5 separate regions of the Homo sapiens genome follow, and all the other regions are linked to region 5. Evidence: promoter capture Hi-C in human tissues and cell types (Jung and others, 2019). All regions are on one chromosome and are shown on one strand. The core of a region is centred on a gene start or on the middle of the fragment in contact, and the rest is flanking DNA. Distances in the headings are between cores, read along the strand shown. Region 1 overlaps LOC105375411 (a long non-coding RNA gene). Region 2 has its middle 120 kb from the start of SEM1. Region 3 has its middle 9.4 kb from the start of SEM1. Region 4 overlaps LOC107986825 (a long non-coding RNA gene). Region 5 holds the start of DLX6 (distal-less homeobox 6).

Region 1 (2,991 bases), core at 243-2,742, 510 kb before region 5:
TTGAGGTAGCTTCTATTCTTATTTATAGCGTCGAGGAGCAGGGAGATGTTACCTGACTTGTCCAAGTAACCCTGTAACCTTGAGAAGGTTACACAAAGGTCATACAAAGTATTTCTTGTAGAGAATCATTCTTGAAAATGAGTTTAATAATAGTTTCTGTCCCATTATAACTTTTCTGTACAAGACATTTATTTTAATAGGTTTTCTATAAAATCATTTTATATAAAGATTATTTAATAGACTAGCTTTAACTATAATAGACACTATCCAACTGATAAAGAATGAAGCACATAGATTTTTCAAAAACCAAAATGTCTTAATACTCTGGTGTGAATACATCAATGAAGTAATCATATTTGTTCTCAAGAGTACCTTAACTTAAATAATGGGTTTATCCTGAGATTAAAATATTTCAGCTTCACAATTTTTGAAGTCCATAGTTATGTCAAGAAATTTCTGTTCCTGAATAATGCCTACATAACTAATTCAGCCTAATGTCCTTATACTAAGACTATTAGGCAACAACAGTAATTTGCCACTTTTTCATTCTCTGCAAGTAGGATAGAAAGTCCACTTGAGTGACCATTTCAGGTCACAGAATAAGTCATTAATAAAATTGAGACTGAGACTCTCATAAGTAGATTCTTGCCGTAATACTCCATCCCTTTATAAGAGCTACTTTTCACTCACAGAAAGTGAGTAGCCCTGTGCCGGGTGGCAGTTGGCCGAATGTGACTCACAGCGGGCAGGAGGGAACTGCATGAGGGTTCCTTATGTGTCTTGAACAAAGCGAGTCAATTTTATTTCAACGAGCATTTACTAAATGTGATGCTGTGCACATTCTAAGTTAAAGATGGAACTACTAAGTCCTGATGCTATCCTCATTGTCTAAGCCAGGCATGTACTTAACAAATAAACAAGTCAGTTGTGCCTATTTTTGTTCCAACTCCACCACAGAAAATCAGTCACATGAGTAGTCACTAGGCATAGAGTGGAAAAACAAACATTTGATCGGATTGTGGCAGTCACTTGTAGGCTAGATGCATTGCTGTTGAGTATATCAGGAAACAATTCCTACAATTTTGATTTCATGGGCTAGAAAAACGTTTTTTGTTTTGTTTTAAATTGGAGACCAACATAGATCAAGTAGAATAAAAATCAAAGAACAAAACCACCATCAAATATCACCATCAACACATATTTTGTTTAACATCAAATAATTAGTAAGGGTATAATTTTTTGACCTTATCAGAATAAAGGATAGTTACTTAAATTGAATAGATTTAGTTTTGTGAAAGAAAATTCATTTAATTTTCCCTGTTCTTCTCATTTTTACATGAACCATGAAAAACCTTGTCAGTCTGGCACCCCTTTGCAAATAGGAGTTTAAGAACCCTTTCCATAGATACATTTTAGTCTCCATGATACAAACAACACTGGACTAAAAAGAGAGAGGTGAAGCCACACACCCAGGGCAGTCTTGAGAATACAGTGTCAGCAAAGGGGACACTGGCCTGCTGATCAGGCCTTAGTCTTTCTTGGTGGCCGCATCGAAGGCAGGTGGCTCTCTGGGCCAAGTGGGTCCTCTTTGGATATGAAGAACAGCAACCTGTGAAAATGCTGTGATTTCACTACTTACTACCTGTGTTTTTTTATGAGTTCAAACGTTAAGGAAATATGTCTCACGAATGTAACTACCAAATAATCAAGTCTATATGAACTTCACTCAGGCCAGTCGTCATACATTTTTTGGATCACAAACTACTTTGAGAATCAGATGAAAGCTATGAACTTTCCTCCCAGAAAACTGCACATATGTGTCCACCTAAGAATATTTTGTGCATATTCCAGGGGGACCTCTGAACTCCGTAAATGGATTCCAGTTTAGAGATCTCAGCTTTAATGCATGAAGGGATTTGAGGTCTTCACCACTGCTATTCTAACTTATCTGTGCTTCCTTATACTGCTTTAGTTTCTACTTAATTCTCAAAAAGCACTTCATGATTATCTTTGCTGCAGCTTCTTCTCGTATCCTGTAGCACATGTTCCTGGAGAGGAGGTTAGATTTTCATCTTGGCTCCTGGATTTCACTCCTTCCAGGTCCCTGCCAGGCCTGGACTACATTTGGCTGTGGTCCTGAAAACCTTTCTAGCTCTTACCAACTTTCCTTCAAAATCTGGATCTTGTTCTTACTCCTTTTGCCACAGATTTATACCTAGCTACAACTGGATTTTGTGAAAAAAGTCTGCCTCTTATTATGAAATCCCAAAGAACCAAGATGTTACTGCCTAAAGACTATTGTGGTGCTCCTGCCATGAGATCAGACTTCTTCAATATCGTGACAAGTTGGAATCAGACCTAAGGTCACTGTTAACCCTCTGCACGTTCTAAGTAATGGCCAAGATTCTCAGTTAGTGGGTAGAGCTCATCTGTCCCCTCTAGTCCTGGTTTACTCTTTTCTCCATCCTGCCTTGCCACAGAAGTCTCAGTAGGTCTGAAAGCTACGATGACATCCAGAGTTGATGTTAAGTCCACTTCTCTATATGGAAATAAATGGTCAAGGCAGGTTTTAAAATGTTTTCTCACTGACCTTTAGTAATATTAACTCCTACTTAGCAGGGAGTGGATCTGAGCAACATATAATTGGCTAGCCTTCTTCAACTCTCTGATTTAGGGCATCTTAGTAGTATATAGACCTTTCACACACACACAAAAAAACCCAATCTTTTTTGATTAATCATTAACTTGAGGCTAATGAAGATTGTTCCACAAAGTTATTGAATTCAATGATGATAAGTACATGCCTTAATGTTAGGAAAGACTAAAAACCATCCAAATGTGGTGGACTTCAACCTGTCATTGAGCACACTGAACTATGTTAACTAAAATTTATTGGATGTTTAGTAAGTACATAATAGCTCAGTAAACATGTTAGTATTATCATTATTATGTGTGCAAAACATACTAAGTGCTTTATGTGAATTATTATTA
Region 2 (3,294 bases), core at 547-3,046, 410 kb before region 5:
CAGGCTAATATTTCTTGCCAATTATATTTTATTTTTTACCAATTATTTAAATTAATCATCTCATATTTCCCCAATATCAAAATTGAAATATAACTCATTCATTTCCCGGTAAAATATTACTCATAGAAACACATAAATATAAATCAGTTTTGGCTTTACTCAACTTTAGGGTTCCCAGATAAAATACAGAGTGCCTACTTAAATTTGAGTTTCAGATAAACAAGAAATTTTTGTTAGTATAATTATGTCCCAAACATTGCAGGGGACACACTTATCCTAACAAATAGTTCATTTTTATTAGAAATTCAGATTCAGCTAGGCATGTTGTATTTTTATTTGCTAGATCTGGCAACTTAACTCCTTTGCCATTTTTATTTCTACAAGTCACAGGAAACTCCACGAACAAGCACTCTTTTTTGTTATATAAAAGTACAGATACAGAAAAACCAGTTATATATACAGACTATGCTTAAGGAAACGTAATGATTATATATACTGGGGTCTGAAACTGCAGGATTCTTTAGCCATTTGTAATTGGGTCATGAAAGATAGAATTCTTGAAAACAAAGACATTGCTTAGGATGTAGTAATTGATAAAAGTTTAGCAGCTTCATTCTAATTTAAATTAGAGTGCCTGAGAAAACTAGCAACATAATTTGGCAAGATCTAAGGCAATTACTTAAAAAGAGGAGCAGGTGTAATTGAGCATGCAGTCTTGTCATCTTGTCATTCCAAGAGCAGGTAGATTCGCCATTGAGGAAGTGTGGCTATGCCAAAATCATTTGTAGAAACATAATTTTATGTGTGTGCTCTGTGGAGGAAGAAGATTGTCAGAGGGAGGGTCGGGGTTACAAACATAGGAATGTGGTTCCCTAGGTGAATGCATATGAAAAAGGACCCCAAGCCAGTGGTGAAAAGTAACACTTTTCTTGATGAAACTATCTAAAGTAAACGAATACCAGGACCAAGATTTAAAAGGCAGAAGAAACATTACTTGTTTAGAGAAGTGATCAAGATTTTTAAAAATAGATGTAATATACTTGGCAATTTAATTGTAATGGCTTGTCAGGTGTTCCTGTTAAGTCTACAATTTCCCCCTTTTGTTTTTCATGGCTTTTAATCTTAATTTTCTCTAACTACACAAGATTCACAAAATTAAGCTGTTTGGTAGGACTGCAGTATTTATTTTGTTTGATTTCCTTTTTTGATCATTTCTTTACACGAACAGCAAATCTCTTCAGCAACACCTGAAAAGATTTACCTACTCTTCATAATAAAAGACTTTCGGTTAACTTCTGAGGTTTTAAAACAACGAACTGTCAACCACCAGAATGGCGAACTCTGAACCTCAAGCAAACTGAAGAGAAAGTTAGCACATCTGCCTCCCTCTAACAGAGTTAAAAACACTTCCCTTGAATTAATATATTCATTATATATTTCCAAGGAGAGTCAAATGACAGGTTCTACAAAGGTTGCCTTAACTGGAGTACTTTAAAAAGTTACTTAGCAACAATATAGCTAGCTCTACACATGCACTCCATATAAAACTGATGATTTCATCAGATGGCTTCTACCCAGAAATTCAGACATTAGCATCAGTTTGGGTCAACACTTTGCTTACCCCTGAATAACCTGAGTCCTTAAACAATTTATAGTTCCTTACATGGGGTCTTTGTTGGGGCCTTTCCTGAACATAGAGGGCTATTCCTTTTTCCTTCAAATGTATTCTAATTCAAATCCCTTCTTCACTGAAATGGCATGACACAAACCTCCAGGCAATGGAGTTTTTTTTTTTTTTCCTTTCAAAACAACAGACATTTGCTAAATTTCAGAGAAGCACCTGTATTAATTGTATTTCCTGCTCATGTGTTGCTTTTGTTTACAATAAAAGAATTCATCTCAGGTGAGTTAACCTTGCTTTTTAGAGAGGGCACCTGCAGTTATCTTGGTGAGTATTGTAAATCAAAACATGTTGAGCCTTTAAAGAGGGAAATAAAGAGGTGCTGACAAGAGGGGATGCCAGTAGGATTAAGCGACTTTCTCACCACTGGTATTATCAGGACAGAGAACAACTGAGTCACATTAAATTACAGGGGGGAGAAAGAGTCCCAGAAATTCCACAGATGGGATGACTGGCTTACCTAAGACGCCAGTCAATGGGAGGTTGACTGGCGTCTTAGGTAAGCCCGGGAAGAGGAGGGGTCTGTGAGGAGGTATGAAAAGACAACTCCCTCCTTAGCCTCGGGCTTCGATAATTGACCAAGATTTTTCAGCTTGTGATTTGATCCAGCCAAACCCTGTTAGAGGCACTTGCCCCCAACTGAGACCAAGACTGAAGTGAATAAGAATTAGGTGAGTCACTTGTATGTACAATACGTGCATTCACATCTATTAGGCTAAATGACACATCGCTCACTTTAAGCACAGGCAGCTGGAGATTGTCATATTCTGAAAATGACAACTGTTATTTATTTATTGAGAATATTTATACAGGTTCTTCCTGGGCACGGAGAATGCATTTTTCAGCAGCACCATGACACCGGCTGTCACGTGCTGTCTTCCGTTGGAGAACGGAACACAGAAAACCATTAGCACAAGCAGAGACAAAGCACACGTATTCGGGGCAGCAATCTGTAGGAGCAGAGATTTAGAAGGTTGAAGGTGGCAGGTTTTTAAGTATGGCCTAAGTCATTTTCTTAACAGGGTTTCAAGCTCCTCTGAGGAGAAAAGGATTGTTTTTCCACACAGCATGATTTCGGTAACTGCCAGAGGACCAGTTTTGAGGCATCGATTAATTTGGTCGAAGGGTTCATATTATACAACTCAGGGGGCATGTTTGTTAGCTGGTAAAGAAGGAACGGAGAAAGTTTAGGACCAAAAGCAACCCTTCTTGTCTGTTTTCCACATATTACCGTCCTTGAAGCTCTAGAGAAGGCTCTTCCCTCCTCTCTGCTGTAATTCTCCCATATTAAAAAAAAAAAAAAAAAAAAAGGCACACTTTCTTAAAACGTCATTTCTCCAAGTAGGGGCCCCCATTCAAATTGTCCATTCCTGGGCCACATGATAGATTTACTGAATCTGAATATCTGCGAGAGACCTTGGAATGTGCATTTTAAGAAGTTTCCTCAATGTTTCTTTTGCATTTTCTTCCAAAGATACAGTAAGGTTATGTAAAAGAGTGCATTCTGAGCTTCCCAGATTCTAAGTGCTGGTTGATATTGCGTTCACAACAACACATATTGCTTGATGGCAACTCAAATCACTGCAGAATATCTACACATACCCTACATTTCT
Region 3 (3,402 bases), core at 336-2,835, 290 kb before region 5:
CGGTCTTATATTTAAGCCTTTAATCCACTTTGAGTTGATTTTTGTGTGTGATATGTTTAATGGCTTGGTTTATGGGGGAGGAGCTTAGCTCTTCTTGGAAGGTGTATATATACCTGGGAACAACTCACACTCACATCTTTATTAGTATTATGAGTACTTTGTACCCAGTGATTGATTCTGGACATTGGGAAGAATTACAATCCCAAATAGACGGAGCTTTTTTGGCTCTTTTGTCATAACAAAATGCCTGGACAAATGAAAATATGAAAAATTATCATTGTAAGCTCCCTGAAATATTTAGATCTCATTGTAGAACAATTACTAATGAATAAAGATACAGTTATTGAAAATGTAAATGCTAATAATGAGAAGTACTTAATCTACCACAACATAAGAGCCCAGCCCAAAAAGACCCTATTTTGGACCAAACTACCTGTTCAAAAATCGGTATTTGCATGCCCAAGACTTGTTTGAAAAGGCGATTATGGTCTCACAGGTAAATCATAAGAATTTTTAAAATTTTGTAAATGCTGTATTTATATGACAGACAGGAACCACTCTGAAGGAATCATTATGGTTTGGGAAATGATATGCAATTTCAAAATCATCTAAATCATTTCAATTGCCTGTATTTACATTTATATAATGGGTATTTATAATGGTGATTATTTTAGAACTTACCTTGTTTTCCAGGATCTCACATTGGTTTCTATGGGAACGAGAATGGCTCTGAAGAGGAGCATTTTAAGAACTCTTTTCACATTCAGTGACTGCTAACTGAACTGTAAATTCTGTTTGTCTGTTAACGGTTTTTAACATTTAGATTTTAACACAGAAATAGAAGTTGGGCATTCTAGCCTCATAAATCATTTTAAATAATAAAAACTATTTTTATGAAACATCTGGCACATTTGAAACATTTGAAAAACAAAATAACTAGCTTTAGGAGCTAATAATCTGTTCACTTTATTAAATTCATTAATGATTAATCCACATTGGCCATGTGCTTGCTCTTAGAAAATTGTGTAAAGAAGAACTTCATCAGAAATATATTGTTTTAATACACTTTCTCTGCTATTTATACATATGTGTGTGTGTGTATATATATATATATGTTTTCTTAGTTGTATAAAATCCCTTAAAGTAGTATAAAATGTTCTGCATTTAAAGTTTCTTCTCTGCTAATACCTCACTCATCCTGTGCTATTATTTGCCCTGGTATCATGTTGTACCTTGACCATGAGTTGGTACTTTATCCATGTTCTTATACCAGTTGGAACTTATTTTTACTATTTTTTGAAACAAGCTCATAAGTCTTTGAATTTCAATTTTTCTTTTTCTTGGAAGAAATTTTTAGATCATAAAAAGCCCAATGTGTAACTTATGGATTACGTTTGTTCAGTTTAAAACTGTATTTAATATTTCCTCACATTTCATGTTTTCCAATTAATTTTATTTTTTTTTAATTCCCTGGAAAAATGAAATTTCAATATATCATTATTTAATTCCTTCTCAACATAATTAAAACCCACTAAAAATAAGAGAAGCCTATTCCAGAAAAGAGTGCTAAAACTCAAAATTTTTCTTGTACCCAAACTATAAAAGATGCTAGCTGAAAGCATATGCATCCCATAACCAACTTATGTAATAGCTACTCCAGTTATTTCTGATATACGATCTATGTCTTAAATCCGAAGAGTAAAGGTTGGTGGCAGACTGCCAGGTGGGGTAGAATTAGCACTGGGTGATTTTGCCTTCCTTTTGATTGGAATGTGTTTGCTTGCTGTCAGCCTATCCCTGACGGTAGGCTGCCAGAGACTAGTGTCAGTTTGAGAAGTGGAGCTGCTAGCATCGCTGTGACTAAGGGATCATTCTGTAACTCAGGGGTCTGGTGTAAGCTCCATGGAATTAATTTTTTCTTCTTTCTTAAAAGTATTTTTCATTCAGATTTGATTTTATGATATGAATTAAGGATTGCCACACTTTGAAAAAAGGTGACGATAAATAAATGAGAAATATGTAATCAAATGTTTTGAGAGGAATGATTAATTGATTTGCTATTCTATTTTTTTAAAGTTGATTTTGAATTGAAGTACAAAAATTGAAAAGTAAAATCAAGTCTAATGTTAATCATTAGAAGAGAAAGAGTTATCTTGAAAAGTATCTGTCAGGCCTCTGAGCCTATATCTGAATCTGAAGGTGAGGCATATAATTGTCTAGCACAGAGCTACTCAAAGTGGGGTCCCTGGACCAGCGCCTATAAAAGACAACTATAGAAAGTGAGCATAAACATGTAGAAACTCTTAGAGCAGTTTGACACTGCCACTTCATCCAACCCTGTGATTTCGTATTTTATAAAAATCAGCCCATGGCATTTTTGAATTTTAAAAATTTGCCCTTTACTACAAATGGAGATGGATTGATTTAGCATAAATTACTGTAAGCAGAAAAGAGTGTCATTTGAACTTCATATATTGAGAATAATTTATCCTGTGTGATTCTGTCTGAAAGCTGGGAAGTGAGGTGTTTTTCTCTCTGAAAAATCTCTTTCTAGCCCTAGAATAGCATATTTATATTCATAAGATTACAGCAAAGGAGGCTGAAGCTGATGTTGTGCTCTCCTTTTGCAGATATAAAAACAAAAGTACAAAGGGCTTAAGTGAGATGTCTGATATTACACAATTAACATCAGAATTTAAAATCAAGTTAAGTAAACAGCATTGCACAGAACTTATTTAATATTCTGATGAGTAAAATGAAAACACCCTAGGTTGATTATGGCATCAAATTGGATATATTTGTAATTATATATGGCAGATGTCAGTGCTTTGTCTTAAGGTTTCTGATGGAAAAGCATTGTGATAGTCGTTCAATGGGTGAACAGTGAAACTATACATACTGCAAACCAAGGTGATGAGTTGGAAGGAATTCAATAACCAAAACCAAAATTAAACAAAGAGAATGAAGAAAGATTAAGGTAGGAACACATAGTTTGGTTAAAGAACTAATAGAGCAGAAATGTAAGTCCACAACTCTCTGAAAGGTATAAAATTCCAAAAGAAAAAGGGTTCACCTTGGACTGTAAATAGGAGAAATAAAATGAAAATAAGAAAGGGAAAGTTTAGACAAAACATTGGGGATTCTTGTTAATTTTCAGGAGTATTAGGTTAGTTGAGTGGGTGCCCAAAAGAATCTCTAAGGACATTTAAAACTTCATTGAACAAAGCCATGGACAGTGTATTGTGGTGAGCAAGAAGACTTAATGGCAGGGGGATGGTCTGGATCAACCATGAGGTGTTTTTCAGCTCTAATTTCTAGTATACCATAGCTCTGTGAAGAATAGTTGCTAAATTGCTTGATCAACCCAGACAAATAAAACTCAAAACAGGAATAAATTCCCAG
Region 4 (3,158 bases), core at 260-2,759, 440 kb before region 5:
TTGAGAGTTTTTAAAGTACTTAGGCGCTTATATATGTTATACAGAAAATATTGATAGAAAACCAAGAAAACTTATATGGTAAGTCTATTTTTCATCCTTATTGTGTTTGTATTTTCCAAATTTTACAAAAAGTTGCATTTAAACTTTAAATGTAATTAATATATGTTTGTTGACTTAAACTTTAGAAAACATAAGCAGAAGAAAAAAATTAGTGATATTCTCACTACTTACTTAAATTTTGATGTGCATTTTCACAGAGAAAGATAGATTACACCAAACAAAACCTAGTCCTCCATTCCTCTCCCTATAAACTCAGAGAACAATCCAGGAATCCTCATCAGAGCAGGAGGTCTTATCTGGTGGCCTTTAGGGTTTTAGTCAAACCATTATCCTAGAATATTATACCTTTTTAAAATCCCCTTTTCTACTCAAAGATAAATTTGGTTTTTAAAAAATGTCATTCCATATACTAAAAGTCCCCCAAATAGGCTAATTGTTTTGGATTTTGGTGGAGAAAGTGAATTTACAAGCAAAGAGTTAGGTACTTTGTGCTCTAAAACTTCATAACCTTTACTTGTAGGTTGGAAGATTAGAAGGTATTGCACTATAAGTTGTAATGGCCCGGAGGCAGCCATTATAGTCTAAAGGTCAATGCTCTGTGAGGCACAATTTTAGTAAGTGGATTCTGTGATTTGAAAAAAGAAGAAGAAAAAGAAGAAAAAAGTAAATTCTCTGGTTCAGCTTCAACAGAGGTGTTTTTTATGTTCCAGAGATAAATTCCTTGAGTCCCTTAGTTCACTGCAACTAAATAGAACAAAATATACTCTTACCCTCAATTCAGGTTTTGTAATTTAATAGTCTGAAGCTTGAGTAATGATTACACACACTTATTCACACACACAGCACTAATTTTACTGATGAAAAAAGGCTTTAAAAAGCTTTAAAAAGAAGACTTTTTAAAACCCTAGCTCTGTCAGAGATGCTTGTTAAAAACAAAGGTGTCACAAGTTGCTTCCTATCTCTATTAGTAAAATACAAAAATAGAAAACAGTGCAGAGAATAAAAATATCAACCTCTCAACAAGTGTTCCCACAGATCTTCTTCACAAGATAGCTCATGTACACATTATCCTTGTCATGTTGGATTCTCTGATAAAAGCTTAGAAAGAATAATGCAAATTAATGTCAACAATATACTTTTTGTCCAAATCATATAGCACTTTTGTCCAAATCATATAGCACTTTAGTCCAAATCATACAGTCCTAGGCTTTAATGAAACATCTGCAGTTTGTTGTGTGACATTAATTAATCTATTTAATTTTTCTGGCTTCAATTTATATTTTAAAATATTATTTTATTCTATAAAAGTGATACACACATAGTTTAAAAAGTTAAACATACAGTATAATATGCCGTAAAAAGTACATGCTCATCTCATCCTTGTTCCCTGGTTACCTTACAGAGAGGCAAATACTGTTAACATCTGAGATTATTCACCCTGGAGAGATAATGTGCAAATACAATCATACAGGCATGTTTTAGTATGTCAATCTGATAGGTTTAAATTACATATTATGTTATTTTAATAAACATTTATTTAATGGTTGACAAGGCTGAAAATATCTTCATTTCATTTAATTGAACTTTAATTCATTATAAGTTGTTTGAACTTATTTTTCTATAAACTGCCTGCTCATGTCATCCTCCCATTTCCTTACTGGTTTTAAAATATTTTTTCTAATTGATTCATAAGAACTCTTCATATAATAAGAAAGATAGCCCTTTATTATATATAGCATATTACAAATATTCTTCCTGCTTTGTCAATGCCATTGAATTTATAGTATTCTATTGCTATGCAGACAATGTTTAATTTTTATGTAGGCAAATTTATCACCTTTTATGGCTTCTAAGCTTTGTGCCATGCTTAGAAAGGCTTCTCTCATTACAAGATTAATTTTTAAATTCTCACATAATTTCTTTCAGTACTTTTAGAATTTCCTTTTGTAGTGATTAAATCTCTGATATTTGATTTCATCTTGGTATAAATCCATCTGAAGTAAGAATTAATTCATTATTTTTCCAGAAGACTAGGCAATTGTTCATGACTAGTTATTAAGTAAATTTGTTTGGGCATGGTTTTGAAATACTTCTTTGATAACAAGCCACATTACCATGAGGATTTTGGTATACATCTCAACTCTTCCTTTGGTCTATTGTGTTTTGTTTCTATGTGCCAGTAAAAGTGTGTTTTAATTAATATAGCATTTAGTACCTTGTAGAACTAATGTCACGTCAGAAATTTATGTGTTTCTAAATTGCTCCCTACTCTAAAAATTATCTGTGAAGTAATTTCATTGGAATAAAATTAATGTATAGGTAAATACAGAGAGATTTGCTGCCTTCAAAATATTGAGTCTTCTTATCCAATAAAAGGTATATCATTATATTTCTTCAATTCTTGTTTTATCCTTCATTCTTTTAAAGTCCCTTTATATATGTCTTGAACATTTCTTAAATTTACTCGTATTACATTTTATCATTTTGTTCCTATGACAAATACTACCTTTATCCCTTTATATTTTAATGTAACTTTCACTTATACATAGGAAAATAATTGGTTTGTTTGCATTAATGTTATTTTATTGTTTGTGGTGTTTTCCAGCTGTAAAATTTAATCATATATGTAAATAATGATAATTCTGTGTCATCTCTTCAAACCTTTGTATTTTTTTTCCTTTCCAATTCCACATTTATAACCTCTAAAGCAATGAGAAGTAATCATTGTAATGGTGGACATCATTGTCTTTCTCCTGTTGAAAATATTTTGAGTAGTTTCACCACTCAGCACAATGCAGGTTTTGGCTGTCAATTAGATGGATATTAAAAATATCTATTTATTATTTTTTTATCAAGAGTCTTTTAAAACCAACAATGGATTTTGAACTTAAATACCTTCATACCCTTTCTGAGCATAATAATATAAATTTTCTCTTCTGATATAATAGAAACATAAATTATATTAGTAATTTTTCTAATAATCTTAATTTTTTGTCTTGGTTATGATGTATTCTTTTAAAGCAATGTTGGATTCTGTTGGCTAATATATTATTTTGGATCAATATTCACAAAATGACTGATACACACACATACACACA
Region 5 (3,294 bases), core at 549-3,048:
TTTTCTCTATTTCTCAGTTTCCTTCGGTCCTGTAACTTATGGAGTCCAGAAGAAGTAGGATATACAGAAGTCCTCAGTAGTTTTCCCAAAGGGAGACACTGTCTCCTTCCCGCAACCTCCAGACACTGCAGTACAGGGTTGTTAGATATTAGATAGTACGTTTCTCCGTGTGGGCAAAGGCTCGCGGCTTAGGTCTCTAAGCAGATCGAAAGTCGGGGTCCAGACCGAGAGGATCTTCAGGTCTCGTCCACCCAATCTCAAGCCTCTGGAAGGGCGGGCTGCCGGCGACCTCCTCCAGTCCCGGGACCCGGAACCCGGGACCCTGGACGCCGGTGCGGGCGGGCCTGCCCTCCTCTGTGCCTGGCCCCCAGTCTGGCCCTCCTACCTGTTGACCAGGCCTGAACCACGCACCGGGGCTCCGCTGTCTCTGCTTGGCTGCCTTAACCTGCGTGGGTCTGGAGACCGGAGGGAGAAAGGCTAGATCCGCAGCCTTGGGCTGCTCCGAACTTAATGTCTTTCCCCAGTCCATCTTTGAAAGAGAAGTGGTTCTACCACCTGGATGTGCGGATATAAATCCCCTTGCAAATAATAAATGGATTAATAATAACAAGGTATGAAGTTCTTTTTATAGAAAAAAAGGAGAGAATTGAAACTAAATGCGGCAGTTAGACAACCATTTTGATAAGAGGATAATTGAGGCGACACTGGTGTATAATTAGAGGATAATTTATGCTATATCCACTTTTATTCCACCTCCCAAAATAAACCCAGTCCATAATCATTACAGGCAAATTGTTCTGAATTTTATAGCAGCAATTTGAACAAAGTACTGCAGTTAATCATGGGAGATTTTTGTGTATTCCTGATTAGAACTCTAATTGCCTCCTTCCAGAAAGTAAAAATAACTGTAAAACGACTCTATTTTTATCATTAACAATGTTGACAATAAAATAAAATCAATTGGAATTGTAATCGAGAGACAAATTTAGGACGAAGGCACTTTTACTTGGGTAGTTTATATTGTAATCAAGATTTGCCAAACCACTAACCGCATGTATCATTTGCATATATTTGAAAGCATTACAGTAGCTTCTGTTTTCAATAGGAAAAAATGCATTACTGTCAGTCCTCCAACGATTCGTTTTCAGAACACGCTGCTGCGTTCTGAAAAGAAAAAAAAGACGCCCCCCCCCCCCACAACCTTTTGTACAATATATAAGAAATACGGCCTGAAACGGCAGGGACCGAGCCAGAACAGGGTCTGATTTTTCTTTTTCTGTACCACCCCCCAGTGGGGTGGAGCCCAGGTGTGAGGGTTCGTCTTCCTTCTGTGGTTTCAATAAAATACGTCTAGAAAAATCCACGGTGACAAGGAGCTCCCACAAGAGTGTAGTAGGACCAGAGTGGCAGGGACGTCAAGAAAGGGGGGCCTGGATTTAATGCGGGGGTGGGGTCACTGCTTCTAAGCACAGGCAACCTACAAGGGTGCAAAGGGATTGAAAGAGAGCAGCCCCCAGTTGGCTGTTTCAAGGCTGAGATATTGGCAACTGGGGCTCCGGGATTTGGGGCACGAGCTGCGGCGGGAAGCATCGGCGGCCGGCCGGGCAGAGGCGCCTCCCTCCCCAACGGCCCCGGGCGCCACACAGCGCGGCCCCCGGCTGCAGCTCCGGCTGGGATTGGAACTGCGGAAGGTAGGCGAAGAACTCTGCAAGTCGCGCACACGCCAGTAGAAGCCGTGCGCCTGTGACGTCAGGGGGCGACTGACCAATGGGGAGGCACTGCCCTTTGGAGACAAACCATTCGACTCGTGGCGTCTGCATCAAGTCTGAAAGCAGACGCGCAACTTTCGCAGAATCCACCTTAAAATCTCTGCCTTAAACTGCACCAGCCCCCAAAAAATCCAAGGGGGGAAAGCAGGCGGGGGGAGAGCAGATTCCCCCCTCCCCCTCTCCTCTCCCATCCCTCCTCCTTCCTCCTCCCTTTGAGTTAACAAGGCCCCGCTCACTATATCTCTTTATATTAAATATATATATATATTAGAGAAGAGCGAGGGAGAGGGAGAACCACCTCCACCCCCCTCTTTAAATTCTTTTTTTTTTTTTTTTTTTTTTTTGCAAGGATCCAAAGAGCTAAGGTGGCTGCAGAGGGGAGAGCGGCGCGAGCCAAGTGGGGGAGGGTGGAGGAAACCCGGGAGAAGGCTTTCTCCAGCCCCCAAAGTTTTTGATGATGACCATGACTACGATGGCTGACGGCTTGGAAGGCCAGGACTCGTCCAAATCCGCCTTCATGGAGTTCGGGCAGCAGCAGCAGCAGCAGCAGCAACAGCAGCAGCAGCAGCAGCAGCAACAGCAACAGCCGCCGCCGCCGCCGCCGCCGCCGCCGCAGCCGCACTCGCAGCAGAGCTCCCCGGCCATGGCAGGCGCGCACTACCCTCTGCACTGCCTGCACTCGGCGGCGGCGGCGGCAGCGGCCGGCTCGCACCACCACCACCACCACCAGCACCACCACCACGGCTCGCCCTACGCGTCGGGCGGAGGGAACTCCTACAACCACCGCTCGCTCGCCGCCTACCCCTACATGAGCCACTCGCAGCACAGCCCTTACCTCCAGTCCTACCACAACAGCAGCGCAGCCGCCCAGACGCGAGGGGACGACACAGGTGAGAGGCCGCTGGGGCAGCTCGCTTCTCCCGCCTCCCGACTGCCCCCTACCCCGCCCGCCCGCTCACTTCCTCGACGCCCGGGCCTCCGCCGGCCCCCTCCCCCAGGCGGCCCCGCGCGCCCTTGGCCGGGCCCCGTGCGCGCCCGCTCGCCTGGCGCCTGCCTGCCGGCCTCTCCCAGCCGGGCCCCTTCCCGCCGCCGCGGACCCTCAGCTTCCGACGCGCAGTTCGGGCTGAGTCCCGGGCCCGGCGCAGGCTTCGTTCGACGAGTTAGTCCACACTGCGCTCTCCAGCCTCCTGGGTCTGTGCGCCCTTTTCCTTGCTCCTTCCCTCCAGGCTGTAACCCACGTTTGACCCGGCTGGGGACATTTCTGGGCCGGAACTGGGGAGCGTGTTTTGCTTCCCAGCCCACGCTGGGCAGGCAGTGGCCTACTTTGCGTGGGGCGCCCCGTGCTCCTCAGTGACTCGGAGGGAAGCTGGCCTGGCTTTCGCTCTGGTTAAACTAGTAACAGTCAGGCTCTTTCCAGTGGGCTTTAAAGTGTCCCTCACCTTCATCCCTGACCGGGCCCCCTATCTAGCTTTTCGCTACAGTGTTGGCTGCTCCTTTGTTCGTGGAGGGGAAGCAAAGAACCTCG

The links. Contacts are between HindIII fragments. The study calls those that stand out against the background at their distance.
Region 1: a contact is called between a fragment that was not itself captured here and the fragment with the promoter of DLX6 in region 5, in 1 of the 25 tissues and cell types used here (thymus).
Region 2: a contact is called between a fragment that was not itself captured here and the fragment with the promoter of DLX6 in region 5, in 1 of the 25 tissues and cell types used here (mesendoderm cells).
Region 3: a contact is called between a fragment that was not itself captured here and the fragment with the promoter of DLX6 in region 5, in 3 of the 25 tissues and cell types used here (adrenal gland, liver and neural progenitor cells).
Region 4: a contact is called between a fragment that was not itself captured here and the fragment with the promoter of DLX6 in region 5, in 4 of the 25 tissues and cell types used here (aorta, mesenchymal stem cells, neural progenitor cells and 1 more).

The regions. Positions count from the first base shown.
Region 1 is chr7:96,498,737-96,501,727 of GRCh38, forward strand. The region is part of intron 2 of LOC105375411 (a long non-coding RNA gene); the gene reads left to right. It also overlaps a transcript of SEM1 not described here. Among named protein-coding and RNA genes, the nearest start is that of SLC25A13, 180 kb to the left of the region's middle. The HindIII fragment of the contact is 4,858 bases long and covers 1-2,991 here.
Region 2 is chr7:96,590,030-96,593,323 of GRCh38, forward strand. It overlaps a transcript of SEM1 not described here. Among named protein-coding and RNA genes, the nearest start is that of SEM1, 120 kb to the right of the region's middle. RefSeq lists enhancers at 1,264-2,171, 1,734-2,233. The HindIII fragment of the contact is 5,172 bases long and covers 1-3,294 here.
Region 3 is chr7:96,717,576-96,720,977 of GRCh38, forward strand. No RefSeq gene overlaps it. Among named protein-coding and RNA genes, the nearest start is that of SEM1, 9.4 kb to the left of the region's middle. The HindIII fragment of the contact is 5,097 bases long and covers 1-3,402 here.
Region 4 is chr7:96,564,769-96,567,926 of GRCh38, forward strand. It overlaps LOC107986825 (a long non-coding RNA gene), which reads left to right. Exons shown (of 3, transcript XR_001745289.2): 1 at 1-78. It also overlaps a transcript of SEM1 not described here. Among named protein-coding and RNA genes, the nearest start is that of SEM1, 140 kb to the right of the region's middle. The HindIII fragment of the contact is 5,791 bases long and covers 1-3,158 here.
Region 5 is chr7:97,003,755-97,007,048 of GRCh38, forward strand. It overlaps DLX6 (distal-less homeobox 6), which reads left to right and starts at 1,799. Exons shown (of 3, transcript NM_005222.4): 1 at 1,799-2,659. The coding sequence starts at 2,224. All of the region lies in intron 1 of DLX6-AS1 (DLX6 antisense RNA 1), which reads right to left. RefSeq lists an enhancer at 516-1,237 and a silencer at 2,550-2,649. The HindIII fragment of the contact is 17,411 bases long and covers 1-3,294 here.